4 separate regions of the Homo sapiens genome follow, and all the other regions are linked to region 4. The links are contacts of gene promoters, found by promoter capture Hi-C in blood cells and fetal thymus (Javierre and others, 2016). All regions are on one chromosome and are shown on one strand. Each heading gives the region's core, a stretch centred on a gene start or on the middle of the fragment in contact. The rest is flanking DNA. Distances are from core to core; before and after follow the strand shown. Region 1 has its middle 28 kb from the start of FOSL2-AS1. Region 2 has its middle 44 kb from the start of FOSL2-AS1. Region 3 overlaps FOSL2 (FOS like 2, AP-1 transcription factor subunit). Region 4 holds the start of RBKS (ribokinase).

The links. The method cuts DNA at HindIII sites, captures the fragments that hold promoters and counts their contacts. A CHiCAGO score of 5 or more calls a contact.
Region 1: a contact is called between a fragment that was not itself captured here and the fragment with the promoter of RBKS in region 4, in 3 of 17 cell types (activated CD4 T cells, M0 macrophages and monocytes). The highest score is 8.5, in activated CD4 T cells.
Region 2: a contact is called between a fragment that was not itself captured here and the fragment with the promoter of RBKS in region 4, in 1 of 17 cell types (M2 macrophages). The highest score is 5.2, in M2 macrophages.
Region 3: a fragment that was not itself captured here is called in contact with the fragment with the promoter of RBKS in region 4 in 7 of 17 cell types (activated CD4 T cells, M2 macrophages, endothelial precursors and 4 more); the score reaches 11.5 in activated CD4 T cells.

The regions. Positions count from the first base shown.
Region 1 is chr2:28,420,875-28,423,962 of GRCh38, forward strand. No RefSeq gene overlaps it. Among named protein-coding and RNA genes, the nearest start is that of FOSL2-AS1, 28 kb to the left of the region's middle. The HindIII fragment of the contact is 5,483 bases long and covers 1-3,088 here.
Region 2 is chr2:28,437,450-28,440,471 of GRCh38, forward strand. No RefSeq gene overlaps it. Among named protein-coding and RNA genes, the nearest start is that of FOSL2-AS1, 44 kb to the left of the region's middle. RefSeq lists an enhancer at 2,433-2,932. The HindIII fragment of the contact is 8,626 bases long and covers 1-3,022 here.
Region 3 is chr2:28,402,351-28,405,602 of GRCh38, forward strand. FOSL2 (FOS like 2, AP-1 transcription factor subunit) reads left to right here. Exons shown (of 4, transcript NM_005253.4): 2 at 1,757-2,008. Among named protein-coding and RNA genes, the nearest start is that of FOSL2-AS1, 9.3 kb to the left of the region's middle. The HindIII fragment of the contact is 2,577 bases long and covers 699-3,252 here.
Region 4 is chr2:27,888,633-27,891,814 of GRCh38, forward strand. It overlaps RBKS (ribokinase), which reads right to left and starts at 1,755. Exons shown (of 8, transcript NM_022128.3): 1 at 1,625-1,755. The coding sequence starts at 1,713. BABAM2 (BRISC and BRCA1 A complex member 2) reads left to right here and starts at 2,097. Exons shown (of 12, transcript NM_199191.3): 1 at 2,097-2,210. BABAM2-AS1 (BABAM2 antisense RNA 1) reads right to left here and starts at 2,482. Exons shown (of 1, transcript NR_028308.1): 1 at 824-2,482. RefSeq lists a silencer at 1,943-2,222. The HindIII fragment of the contact is 13,557 bases long and covers 1-3,182 here.

The DNA.
Region 1 (3,088 bases), core at 36-2,535, 530 kb after region 4:
CTCCGCAGTGGCCTGGACTGCAGTGGCATTCGGCTGAATGTCTCTGAGGGCACTGTGAGGACAGGGCCCTGGTTAGACACGGGGGACCCCCCTTCTTTCTCCAAAGGCAAAGTACAGGCTGCTGTGGGGCCTTCAGATCTGCTGCTATTTCAGAGCATAACGCTGCCTTGTCCCTCAGGACCTTTGGAAACTATTCAGTATTATATAGGTGACATATCTTTGTTTTGTGGTGGAATTCATATAGAAGAAAATGAACCATTTTAGAGTGAACAATTCAGTGGCATTTATTACCTTCACGATGTTGTATAATACAACTACCACCTCTGTCTAGTTGCAAAATATTTTCATCACCCAGAAAGAAAACCCCAAACCCATTAAGCTACTACTCCCCAGTCCTCCCTCCCCAACCCCTGACAACCACCAATCTGCTTTCTGTCTCTATGGATTTATATTTAGGTAGTATTTCTGAGAATCCCAGTGACTCTATTTTCTGAACTAAAAAAGAATCATGAAACATTAGCACAGAAAATAAACTAATAGAGACTAGTGGTACTGTTTCCCCTTTATTTCCATACTTCGTAACCTTTTCATGTGCCTTTATATAAATGGTCTCATTCAGTAACCCAAGAGACAAATGTTGCTGGATGTGTTGGAAAATCTCAACTCCATTAGAAATTCTCTCTTTTTTTTTTTCTTTTTATTTTATTTATTTTTGAGATGGAGTCTCGCTCTATTGTTTGGGTAGAGTGCAGCGGCACAATCTTGGCTCACTGCAACCTCTGCCTCCCGGGTTCATGTGATTCTTCTGCCTCAGCCTCCCAAGTAGCTGGGACTACAGGCATGCACCACCAAGCCCAGCTAATTTTTGTATTTTTAGTAAAGATGGGGTTTCACCATGTTGGCCAGGCTGGTCTCGAACTCCTGATCTGTAGTGATCCACCTGCCTCGGCCTCCCAAAGTGCTGGGATTACAGGGGTTAGCTACTGCACCCGGCCAGAAATTCCTTTTTTCTTACACAGTGGTGTGTCTGTTCCACTGGCAAGTACAGTTACTACCTTGATCCAGTGCAAATGGCATGCATTTGTTTCTCAAAGATGGAATAAATCTGAAAAGACAGACTACATTCACTGATAAAAACAGACACCTTGTGTTTTAAACATAAGAGAACCGCATTTAAAAAAATTAGTGTGCAGTTGGAGACTGTCACCATTATATTCTTACAGGGATGAGGGAGAAAATATTCATTAAAAAATATTTTTGTGTTCCTACTAAGTGCATGACACCGCCAAAGGCACTCTTGGGACACAGTTCTATAAGACACTGTTGATGCCAGTGTTAGAAATGAGGTGTCTCTTTATTTCACAGCCAAATGTTTTCACTGGAAATAGCAATGAACTAAAAACTAGAAGCTGCCCTCAAGGAGGTTGCAATCTGGTTGGAGTGGAAGGAGAAGGAGCACAGACATTTTGGCCTGTGGCAGGTGGGGGGATTTCAGAGACAATTCCATGGAGGAGAGGATCCTAAATTGGAGCCTGAAAGTGGGATGGCTATGGGTAAGATGGAGTGGAGCCGGGCACGGTGGCTCACACCTGTAATCCCAGCACTTCAGGAGGCCCAAGGCAGGTGGATCACTTGAGGCCAGGAGTTCAAGACCAGCCTGGGTAACACGACAAGACCTCGTCTCTATAAAAACTTAAAAAATTAGCTGGGCATGGTTGCATACACCTGTGATCCCAGCTACTCAGGAGGCTGAGGTGGGAGGACCGCTTGAGCCCAGGAGGTGGAGGCTGCAGTGAATTGTGATAATGCCACTGCATTCCAGCCTGGACAGCAAAGTGAGACCCTGCCTCAAAAAAAAAAAAAAAAAAAAAAATGGATAAAGAAGAGAGCAAGCGTGCCTGGCCAAGGGAACAATCTAACACAAGGGGAAGAGAACATGGGTTGGCTTTGGGGGCTGTGCAGGAGGCCTGGATGTCCTGAGCATGGGCTGATTGGGGATGTTGGAAATTTAAGCTGCCAACCTAAGGCAGGCTTGAACCTTTCTATAGTCAGTCTATCAACGCCTTTTATTGAGTGCCTATTTGTGCTAGGCACTGTTCTCGGCTCCAGGAAGACAGAGGGGACAAGGAAGCCTTAGGGCCCCCACCCCCACCCCAGGCCATTGTCCTGGCTACTGGCCATTGTAGAATAAGTAATTACAGGTTCACGAGTGTCTCACAGAGATGTATAAGGCACCATGGGGGCAGGTACCAAGGGGACTTTCCCTAGTCTGGGGGATGGTTAGAAAGGGCTTTCCAGAATCAGTGGCATTTAAACAGACCCCAAAAGTAAGAAGAAATGAGAGATTTATTTCTAGGTATTGGAAGCTGCAAATGGGGCAGCTGCATGGCGGAGGGGTGACACAGCCGCAGTCCCACTCTAGAGAGGTTATTGCTGCAGGTGTGCAGGAAAGGTGGGCGGGGGGAGGAAGGAGGCCCCGCAAGAGTCCGCACTAGCAGTGATGTCAGAAGGACGTTCCTGGGGAAGCCGAGTCTGAGAGGTCTGGTTCCAGGAATAAAAACTGGGAGGCAAGAGGAGGAGCTGGGTCGGGGGCAGGAGGCCCAGGTCCTGAGTTCGGTTTTAGGCATTTAATGCCAGGAGCTGGAGGACGTGCAGATGGGTGCCACCATCACGTCATGTTTCCACCCTGCCCTGGTCCTGAGCCCTCTGTGTTTTCCCGGCCAGTGTTCTCTTGTTCCCCAGAGGGGCTCCCCTCTTCTCAGGCCCCCCAGCCCCCTCACTTTCTACAGACGATGTCACCTTCCACCTCACAGAAAATGGAGGCCATCAGAGGGCATCTCCTCCATCTCCCATCGCTGCCATCTGTCTCCCACCTTCCCTCCTTCTCCTGATTTGACAGAGAAGGGCCCCTCCTGCCCCCAAGCCCCTTCCTTTGCCCAGCTCTGGGTACCCACCGTGCTCCTTCTTCTCAGGGACCCTCTTCCACCAGCTTCCTCCTATTCTTATTTTGTGGTTGACGTCAGTCTTTTCAAGGGCCCTTTCCCATCAGCATTAAATGTGATCAAGTATCATCCATCTTAAACATGAC
Region 2 (3,022 bases), core at 143-2,642, 550 kb after region 4:
TTGGCTTGGCTGTGGGAGGATCCCGAGGGCCAGCGCCCAGCTCTTGGGCCCGAGGCCTGGGCCTAGATTCATTCTTTCATAGCCCATTGTTCAGGGTTCAAGGAGCCGCCCACCCACCCGCCCCTGGCATTCTGGTTAAACCAGGAGTCTGGGCGGCCAGGCGTGGCCTGGGCCTAATGAGCAGGGTGTGCCCGGAGGAGTTGTTAGGAGCAGGGCGACAGCTGTGGGCAGGTTCCTACCCACCACGTGGGCGGGTGGCTTGCACAACAGCCCCCTGCGCGTTGGCGTGCTGCACGGCATTCTTGCCATGTGTTTATTTTTTAAAAACAAATGCTCAACGTTGGTGGGAGTGGTGAAGATATTTCTAAATGTTTCAAAGACATTGTGTTAACATGTTTTAAACCCCGAAGTCTATTGTCTTAGGAAAGTTGGTGCAAGTCTGTAGGATTTCCACCAGTCACAAAGAAGGCAGAATGCCAAAATCATAACAGGTAACCCCTTCCCCATGATTTTCAAAAGGAGGAATCTTCCAGAGTCACTTGGGGATTATGGGCAGGTGGCCCCACCAGGGCCGTCCTCCATGCCTGGTCTGTGGAGGAGGAGCTCCCTGCTCTCAGGGCAAACACAAGTGCATCCCAGCCGCTGGTTTCCTCTCCTGGGCTTGTTGACAGGAGGGTGGAATTCCAGGCCTGCTTGGTTTTCATGCATGGGGCTGTTAACTAGGATCCCTGGCAGCTCGAGGAGTTTTGGACCAAATCAATCCTCCAAGTAATGACCAGGCGAACTCAAGGCACTGTCTGTGTGTCACTGTGTATCTGGGACAGCCTTTGCTGTATTTGAGAGAAGCCGGTCTCCTGCCTTGCAGCAGAGCGTAGTTTGGTTGGTAGTTGGGGGTGGGTCATCCTGTTGTTGAAGTACCTCTTTGTGCCCCTGGAGACTTGCATTCTGGGTCCTGCTGTTAGTTGGGAGGTTTCCAGCTTAGAAACATTGTGGTCATCAGACGCCTTAATGGGAAAGCTGTAGCGAGGACAAGGGCAGGTGGGCCTAAGAAGAAGAGAGGTTGGAAGGATGTATCCTCGCATTCCAGATGGATGCCGCACAGGTCTAACAGCACAGAGGGAGAATCTGGAAACACCAGACTGCAGAGTTGGGTGGGACCCAGCATGGAGGGTGTTCCTCTAGTATCTCTGTCCAATATCATAATCGCCCAGGCCGCAGTGAGAGCATGGGCTAAAATTCACGCAGTCATTTCCTTCATGAGATAGCTTTGCAGATCACTGTGGTTGACTCGTGGGATACAGAAAGGTCAAGCCATTCTTGAAAGATCTCTTGTCAACACAACATCCCATCTAGCTCGAGTTCAGATCTCTTATGTGAGCCCCTGACGCTGCGGACCTGCCCCCCCGGCCATCACTCATCCAGCCTTCACAGGGCAGCAGGTGGCCACCATCTCCTCGGCTGAAAATGCCCTTGGAATGAAATGTACACCTCTTCAGTGCCCCCAACCCCTCCCTCCCTCACCGCTCCCATCTAAGCCACTCACTGTGCTCCGGACAAAATGGCCTCCTGCAGGCTGTTGCACATGATATGCTAAGCCTTCCCTTCCGTCTGCCTCTGCAATACACTGTCATTGCTATTCTTATCCCTATTTTTCCTATTTATTTCAGAAAAATTAAAATCCTACCTTCCCTGTTCTGGAAAGCATTCTTGCACCATGCCCTTCAAGACTGACTCAGTGGAGGGGGCTGCTGGAAGGAGCTGGAAGTTATATTGTTAGGGAGGGGACAGCCATGAGTTGGGAGGTCAGAATAGAAAATCTAAAAGTATTTTCAGTCTTGCAAGTAAGACAACTATCTATTGTGACGAAAAGAGTGACGTCACTTAGTGTGAGACCTTGGGCAAGTTCACCCCGCTTTCTGAGCCTCAAATTCCCCATCTCCAAATTGGGAACCATGAATCCCACCTCTCAGGGGCTTGTGAGGACCCACGGATGTGACCCTCATGAAAGTCTGGACCTGACACGAGGGAGATACATCATGAGCATCAGCCCTCCTTCCCCATCCCACAGGCCAGGAGCATCTGTCAGTGCCCCAGTGCTGACTCTCCAGGGCACTCTTCGGACTGAGGAGGAGGCAGAGGGCCTCATCAGCGGGGGCAGGGGGACCAGGAGGACTGGATGTTAACAAATTGCCCAGCACCAGTGGCCGTCATGTTTGTTTCTTAATTAGGCCGAGTTAATGAATGTCGTGGCTCGTGATTCACTGCTTTGGAGGATATATCCCTTTCTGTTTGCCTTCCTCTCACCTGGGCCTGACAGCTGCCACCCCCACGCCACCACCCTCCACACTCCTCTGCCACACAGCAGGCCTTGGAGTCAGCCCACCTGCCGGAGGGGGTGGCCATACTCAGTCTTGGGCCCCCAGCCCTGCTCCATCAGGGTTCCTGGACTGGCAGAGCCAGAGGGGACAATGGAGAGCCCCCATCAGTGCTGAGGAACTCAGCGTAGAACGCCCTGAGCTAGGCCCTCCCCTGAGCCCCGCTTTACTTTCACAGGTGGCAGGGCGGGCAACGGCCGCACGGGTGTTAGCAACAGAGTCCAGGCCAGCGGGCTGAGGCCCTGGACAGGTGTCGGGAGCCAGACTCATGACGCTTCCCCCACCTGCCCCCTTCCCTCTGCCCGCTACAGACAACACACGCCTGAAGCAGGGCTGAGCCCTGGGCGCAGTGGATAAGGCCTCTCCTTTTCGTCCATACAAACCTCTAGGGGACTTGCCATGCTTGTGGGGAGCCAGGTTGTCAGAAAATGGGCTCATGGGTGAGGTCTCCTGAAACTTCTAGCTTCTCCTGGGAGACCAGGGAGGGCAGAGATTTTAAAGTTTAAAAGGGTCCACATGTTCCTCAGTCTGAGAACCAGGCAGTCCTACGGAGAGGCCAGGGCTCAGCACTCACTCACTTCTTCAATGCCACCTTCCATACCCACTGTTTAAGAAGTCACCACCTTGGGCCTGAGCTGGGGGTGCTG
Region 3 (3,252 bases), core at 737-3,236, 510 kb after region 4:
TGGTTGATGAGGCAGCCGTTCCAACATGCAGACTAGGGTCAGGCAGATAGCAGGGAATTGAGCAAGAAGGGGTCCCCAGCTCTGTCAGCTGTAGTGAGGTACTCTATGTGTTATTTACACAGCAGGAACCCTGATGTTGTGACAAGGCAAAGACAATGGTGGTGCCAGCTTCCATTGCTGCGAATGCTTCTATCCTAGTTGGTCTGATTGGACCAGCATAGGGAGGGTTCTACAGCATCCATGCTAATGATAGTGGGGTTCCATTCGGGGCCAGACAGACCTGTGGTACCTTCTTTGTGAGAGGGGAGGTCTATAGGGGATGACCTGACACTCTGTCTGAGGGCAGTGGGGGTGGATAACCAGCACTTAGGGCTGGATTTTGAGGAAGAAAGCAATGGAAAAGGAGCTTGTATACCACTGTGTTCAGGGGCTCTGGCCTCTTTGTCAGGCTGGACTGGGTTTGAATCCTGACCCCGCTGCTTATTAGCAATGTGGCCTTGAATAAGTTACTTAATCTCACTAAGCCTAAATTTCTGTCCCTAAAATGGAGCTAATGGTCGTTCTTCACTCAGAGAGAGAATTAGTGAGATAATCTAGGTAAGCCATGGTGTCTGACATTTAGTAAGTGCCCAGGAAGTGTTGTTAGCTATTGTCTTCATCTCACCCAGTTTTTAAGTGGGGAAGAAACTACTTGGAGAAGCTTTATGTGGACACAGGAGTCATCTGAAGATGAAGGTTCACCTGGGTTCCATTAGGGGGACTTGCCTCTGAAAAGCTGGAAGTAGGGGGCTCTTCTCTCCTTCCCGCTTCTTGCAGTTTCCAGTAGCTGCCTTGGAGAAAGGTCAGGACCAGCTGCTAAGGAGCACAGCCCATTTTAGTTTCTATACTCTGTCATCATCTTATATTTTAAATAGAATGCTTCCTGCAGCATGTTCCAGAGAGCTCTGCAACGTGGTCTGGGCATAAATTAAGAAGCGGGGAGAAAACTGCACTAGCAGCACCAGAGTTTCCCACAGAAACATCTGTGAACATAGATCAATGCCTATGTAGCTGGGTAGAGAGACACACTCAGCCAGTCTGCCCCAAGCAAGATGCTGATGATGGGAAGGGAGGAGGGACAAGGACAGCAAGGGATGTCTGGCTGCAAATGCCGCTACTTGTTAGTCTCCTGGGTTAGAGGACATCTTTTCACGGACCTGGCTGTGCCCTGATGGAGTCATAGCTCTGTCCTGAACCTCTTTGGAAAGTGACAAAGGCAGACACAGTATGCTCCCTTGGTGATCTTTGTTGGTCCAAGGCTACTGGTGTGCAAATCCCTTCAAGGTGTCCTGAGCTGGTACCCTGAGAAACAGTTGGCAGGCGACTCAGAGGCTTAAAAACCCAGGTGCCACATCCTGCAGATGTGTATCCTGGAGAGCTGCCAAGAGGGCCTGCCGAGTGTGAGTGCTGGGGACCACGTCTATCTTGGAAGTCATTTGGAATAGGACAGTATCCTCACTGAGCCACCTGGGGATGGAGTTCTCAGGACCCCAGTCAGGGAGCAGATCCGACGTGAAGCCCCAGGCATAATTAAGATTCCCCCCTTGATTCTTGGATGCACAGGACTTGTCCAGGCCCACCTGGGGTCCTGACCTTGCCCTTCGAACACTGACTGTGCTCTGTGCTGGTTTTTGCCTCAGCTCTGTTCAATTATTATTAACTATCCTGTTCAGCTTAGTATTTATTGGCTCATTTGTATTTTTTTTCCTCATTTCAGAAATTCCGGGTAGATATGCCTGGCTCAGGCAGTGCATTCATCCCCACCATCAACGCCATCACGACCAGCCAGGACCTGCAGTGGATGGTGCAGCCCACAGTGATCACCTCCATGTCCAACCCATACCCTCGCTCGCACCCCTACAGCCCCCTGCCGGGCCTGGCCTCTGTCCCTGGACACATGGCCCTCCCAAGACCTGGCGTGATCAAGACCATTGGCACCACCGTGGGCCGCAGGAGGAGAGATGAGCAGGTACAGCTCAGACCAGTGGGAAGGAGCCACGTCAGTGGCTTTCAGAGCCCCAGAAACACAGAACGGGTTTCTGCAGACTGGGAGGGTTAATGTTCTGAGAGCAGGGGAGACAAGGGAGCTAGGGGTCGAAGAGCACGTCATCCCCCTTACTGGAGGCCGAGCTGGAGAGCCAAGACTCAGGCTGGCTCTGTCATCTCGCTTATGTCCCTTAGAATCTCTGAGTCTCACTTTCCTCAGCCACAAAATGGGGATCATGGTCCCTGCAAGCCAGGACTTGGCTACAGATGGGAAGGACCATTACGACCTGCCCACAGCAGGATCCTTCTCTGATCCTTGGCAAAAGGGCCATGGGACAAGCAGCCAATGAACCCTGGCTGTGAGCTTTTTAGGATTATCCCTTAGCCGTCTCCCAGGGTCTAGTGCAGGCCAGGCACCCAGCAGACCTACGGGGTCAAGCTCTGGGTCGGTACTGCCCACGACTTCCCATTCCTCCTCAGTGTTCTAGGCCTCCAACTCGGAGCAGGAGCCTATTTCAAGGGCCTGGAATGCATGTTCCAGAGGTGCAGTAACTCTGGGGCCTTAGGAGTCTGTTCAGTGGCATGGACAGGAGGATGAGGCAGGGGAGGCCAGACATCAGCCCTTTTCTCTTCAAGGGGCTCAGCTTTGAGAAAGAATTAACCTGGCTGGGGAGGGAAGCCAGAAAATGGGGAAGGGGGGGCTCTGCTATTTAGGCAGCACCTACCTAGTACTCAAGAGGCTCATTGCCTGGATCAGCAGTAAGCCAGGGCAGTGCCAAGTTCCCTGGTCTTGGAAAGGGAAATCAGAATCATGCATAATTCCAGAAAGAATGGGATAAAGCCTCAGAGAGCCCCACCTCTCCCCCATGTCAGATGATACAAGCAAGGGCCAGACATACCTGTGTGTGGCCACTCGGCCAGTGAGTGGGGAAGTCTGGGCTAGATCCCAGTTCCCTGGACCCCCTATGCAGTATTCTTTCTCCAGGGCTATGCCACCCTGAGCCCAGGGAAGGGAAAAATACTTTAGCAGTGGAATCCCTTTTTCAAATGAATTGTTATCCTGGGAAACTATTTCAGTGACAGCCTTGGAACCCTTCCTCATTTCAACCACTGTCCATCTTCACTCTGTGATCCCCAGGGCCACAATGTTCCAATATACGGACCTTTCAAACATGGTTCCCAGTGGATCAGGGTAGATCCAGACCCCAGGATACTTGGAATTACAGG
Region 4 (3,182 bases), core at 505-3,004:
TTCTTGAAAAGAGTCATCACCAGTAAAATCAATTGCTATATTGTGTTGTAAACACAGTAATGTTCTTTCTACACAGATGTCTGCAAACTATGGCCTGCAGGATGTTCTTGTAAGGCTTGGGAGGTAAGAATGGTTTTTACATTTAAAAAATGTTGTTAAAAAAAAATGTGACCTTGACCACATACGGCTTGCAAAGCCTAAAATATTTACTATCTGGCCCTTTACAGAAAAGTTTACTTACTCTTGCTCTAGAAAAAGATGTACAGGCCTCTTCAACAAATGTCTCCAACTAGATTCAATTTTATGCTCTGTCACCAAAGGAAAGTATTTTTATCTTGGCACAGTGTCTGACAGAATAGTTCTAATATTTGTGGAAAAATAAAGGTCATTGGTATTTAAAATTCTTTTGTTGCTTCTTCTCGTTACACAGTCTCCTACTCATCCTCAAGTTTTCGTCAGTCACTATAACTGCCTCTAGCAGTCTCTTCTCTAACTCCCACCTTTCTAATCTCAGTGGAAATTTGGTAACACAGCTTATAAATATTTTAAGGTAAGGTTAAATTGGTTACATGAAGACCCTAGACCTATTTTCTGAGTAGAATACAGGTGGTTTGGTGCAGCAATTTGGTGACTTATTTTGATTGTCCCAAAGCCTTTTTGTTTAGTTCCACGTTCTCTATTACCCTTTGGAAAAGCAACATTTCAGGACGAATGAGGTGTTACTGTAGCATACCTGATCATTTTTATAACACAAAGTAGCATTACAACTGAAAAGATATTCATCAAAAGACTGAACTGCAGTAATTGGAGTGGTAGGATTTTCTTGGAATATCTGAATTTATTACTAATTTTACAGTGAACATACATTACTTTTGTAATCAGAAAAGCTACCTTAATTTAAAAAAAAGAAAAATCAGAAGGATCTGTCTACTCAATCTTACTGACCTAACTCAACAATTTTCATTTGGCATATTTTCTATCATAATTTGATCATCGTTTTCAGAGGTTGTAAATACTGTGTTTATGTTTTTATTTTGATTCATACTTGGCTTGCTGAAAAATACGCTGTAAATATAAAATACTGCAGTAATGCCGACAATCAACATGGTGAAAGGTGACAGTCTTTTTGATTTCTGCTCAACTCATTATTTTATACAATAAGCTCAGACGAATAATACCCAATTTGGATAATGTTACGCTTGACAAAACACTTTACTTCATTTAGTCCTCACAACAACCCTGTGAGGTAGGCACATTCTCGGAGGTAAAATGACGTGGGCAAAGTTCCCTGGCTCGTTTGGGGAAAGGCTCAGCAGCCGGGCCAAGAAAGGTCTTTGGGGGCGCAAGTCTTTGGAGGGCAGGTCTTTGGGGAGCGCTTTGAGTAATATTAGAGCTTTCACTAAACCCTGGCCTATTACGTCCCCTCCCCTGAGATTTACCTTTATATACTCAAGTTCTTTCATGCCAGGAAGGTAGGCTGAAGGCTTCGAAAACCTGCAGCTCATACCCAAAGCTAGCACTGTCTATCCCTGGAGACCCAGCGCCCAAAAGCTCCACTGGGCGCATAGCGCACGGCACGCCTCCTCCCCCGAGCCGCAGACTGAGTAACTGGCCCCGGACTAACCTGACCAGGTCGGTCATGCAGGAGCCCACCACTACCACCGCCGCCACCTCCTCTTGCCACTGCCTCTGGGGTTCCCCAGACGCCGCCATCGCTCAAAGGTGCTGCTGTCCAACCTGGACGGTGACCTCTGCCCTTTGCCCGACCCCGTAACCAGAGACGCCACTCCTGCCCTCCCTAACGACGCGGGCCTTTCAGACGCCTACGCGGGTCGCCCACCTGACTGCCCGAAATCACCCCGCCCACCAAGTGTCCCCTCTTCTTCCTGGAATAGTCTCGGTGCACAGCCTCACGTAACAGGGCCCTCCTGATATGGCGAGACTCCGCGCTCCTCGTCACTCACGGGGCAGGCGCTGAGGAAGGAACTGTCAGGCACCGCGGGGACGCCTTTCCGAGCGCCCGGCTCGGCGCGGCGCGGGGGCGCGCACGCCGCCCAGCTTCGGGGCCGCAGAGGGGGCGGGGCGGGACGTCCGGGGAGTGCGCACGCATCCTGCCCGCGGCGCGCGCGCAGGTCGGTGCGTCTGTCGGGGGCGCGCTCGGGTACCTGTACCCCACGTAGTCGCCGGTTACCGATCGGACTAAGTTCCAGGTACCTGGACTGGGGCTGGTGCGGGGAGGTTGGATCCCGAGTCGCACAGGTGGCGTGGAGAACTGTGGTTTAAATATGGCCAGGGGACTCGCCTCCTCTTCCTATGGAGAAGGCCCCCGTTCCAAAGATGCCCTTCTCATCCCCATCACGCTGATTCCCTCAAGAACGAGCCCCCAAGGCCAGAGGCGTCTCTTTCTCCATATCTGGCCCATCCCCTGGTTCCTGTAAACCCCGAGTATTAGTTCCTTGTTGCCTGATGAGGGGAATCATACAGTTTGGAAGAGGGGAGAGTGTCCCTTTTTAAGACGTCCCCTAGAGTGGGGTGGTCATTCTTCGGGTCTGAGCTAACTTGTTTTTCTCGAATGTTGCCCCTTGGGGGAAATTGCTTCCCCAGTGTAACTTCCCTCGTGCGCTGTATGACGTCGACGTGACGCAGCAGGATGCCACCCCTTTCCGTTCCATGACGTCAGCAGGGCACATGTTTCCGTGTTTGTCATCTCATTTTAATTGCAAGAACCTGGATGGTGCTTTAGACGTCTTTGTAATCCCCAGGCCTCTCATCAAAGGACCTTTTGTAACTTTATTTTGGGGTAGCAGACCCTTGCAAAAATTGTAATTTTGCATTTTCCTTTTGCAATACGTCAAAATCAGGAAATACAAATTGCAGTAGTAGTATTCAGGGGACTCTGACCACCGTAAATATTTGTATATCTGGGGTGTATTATAGTGCTGCCATGCGTAAGAGTTACTACCGGTGGTGACTCCCTGTCCATGTACCCGGTTCACTGCACCAAAGGACCAGTGTTTTTGGCTAAGTGACTTCTGATTTTGGAGTCATTGTGTTCCACTCCCCACCCCCCGCCCTTTTTTTTTAGAGAAGTCACACCTCCTCATGGTTGAAATAGATTTTAATACTGCGTGAAACCTTGCACTGTTAAAACATAGTATTATGGCTGCCCTGGAAATAGAATT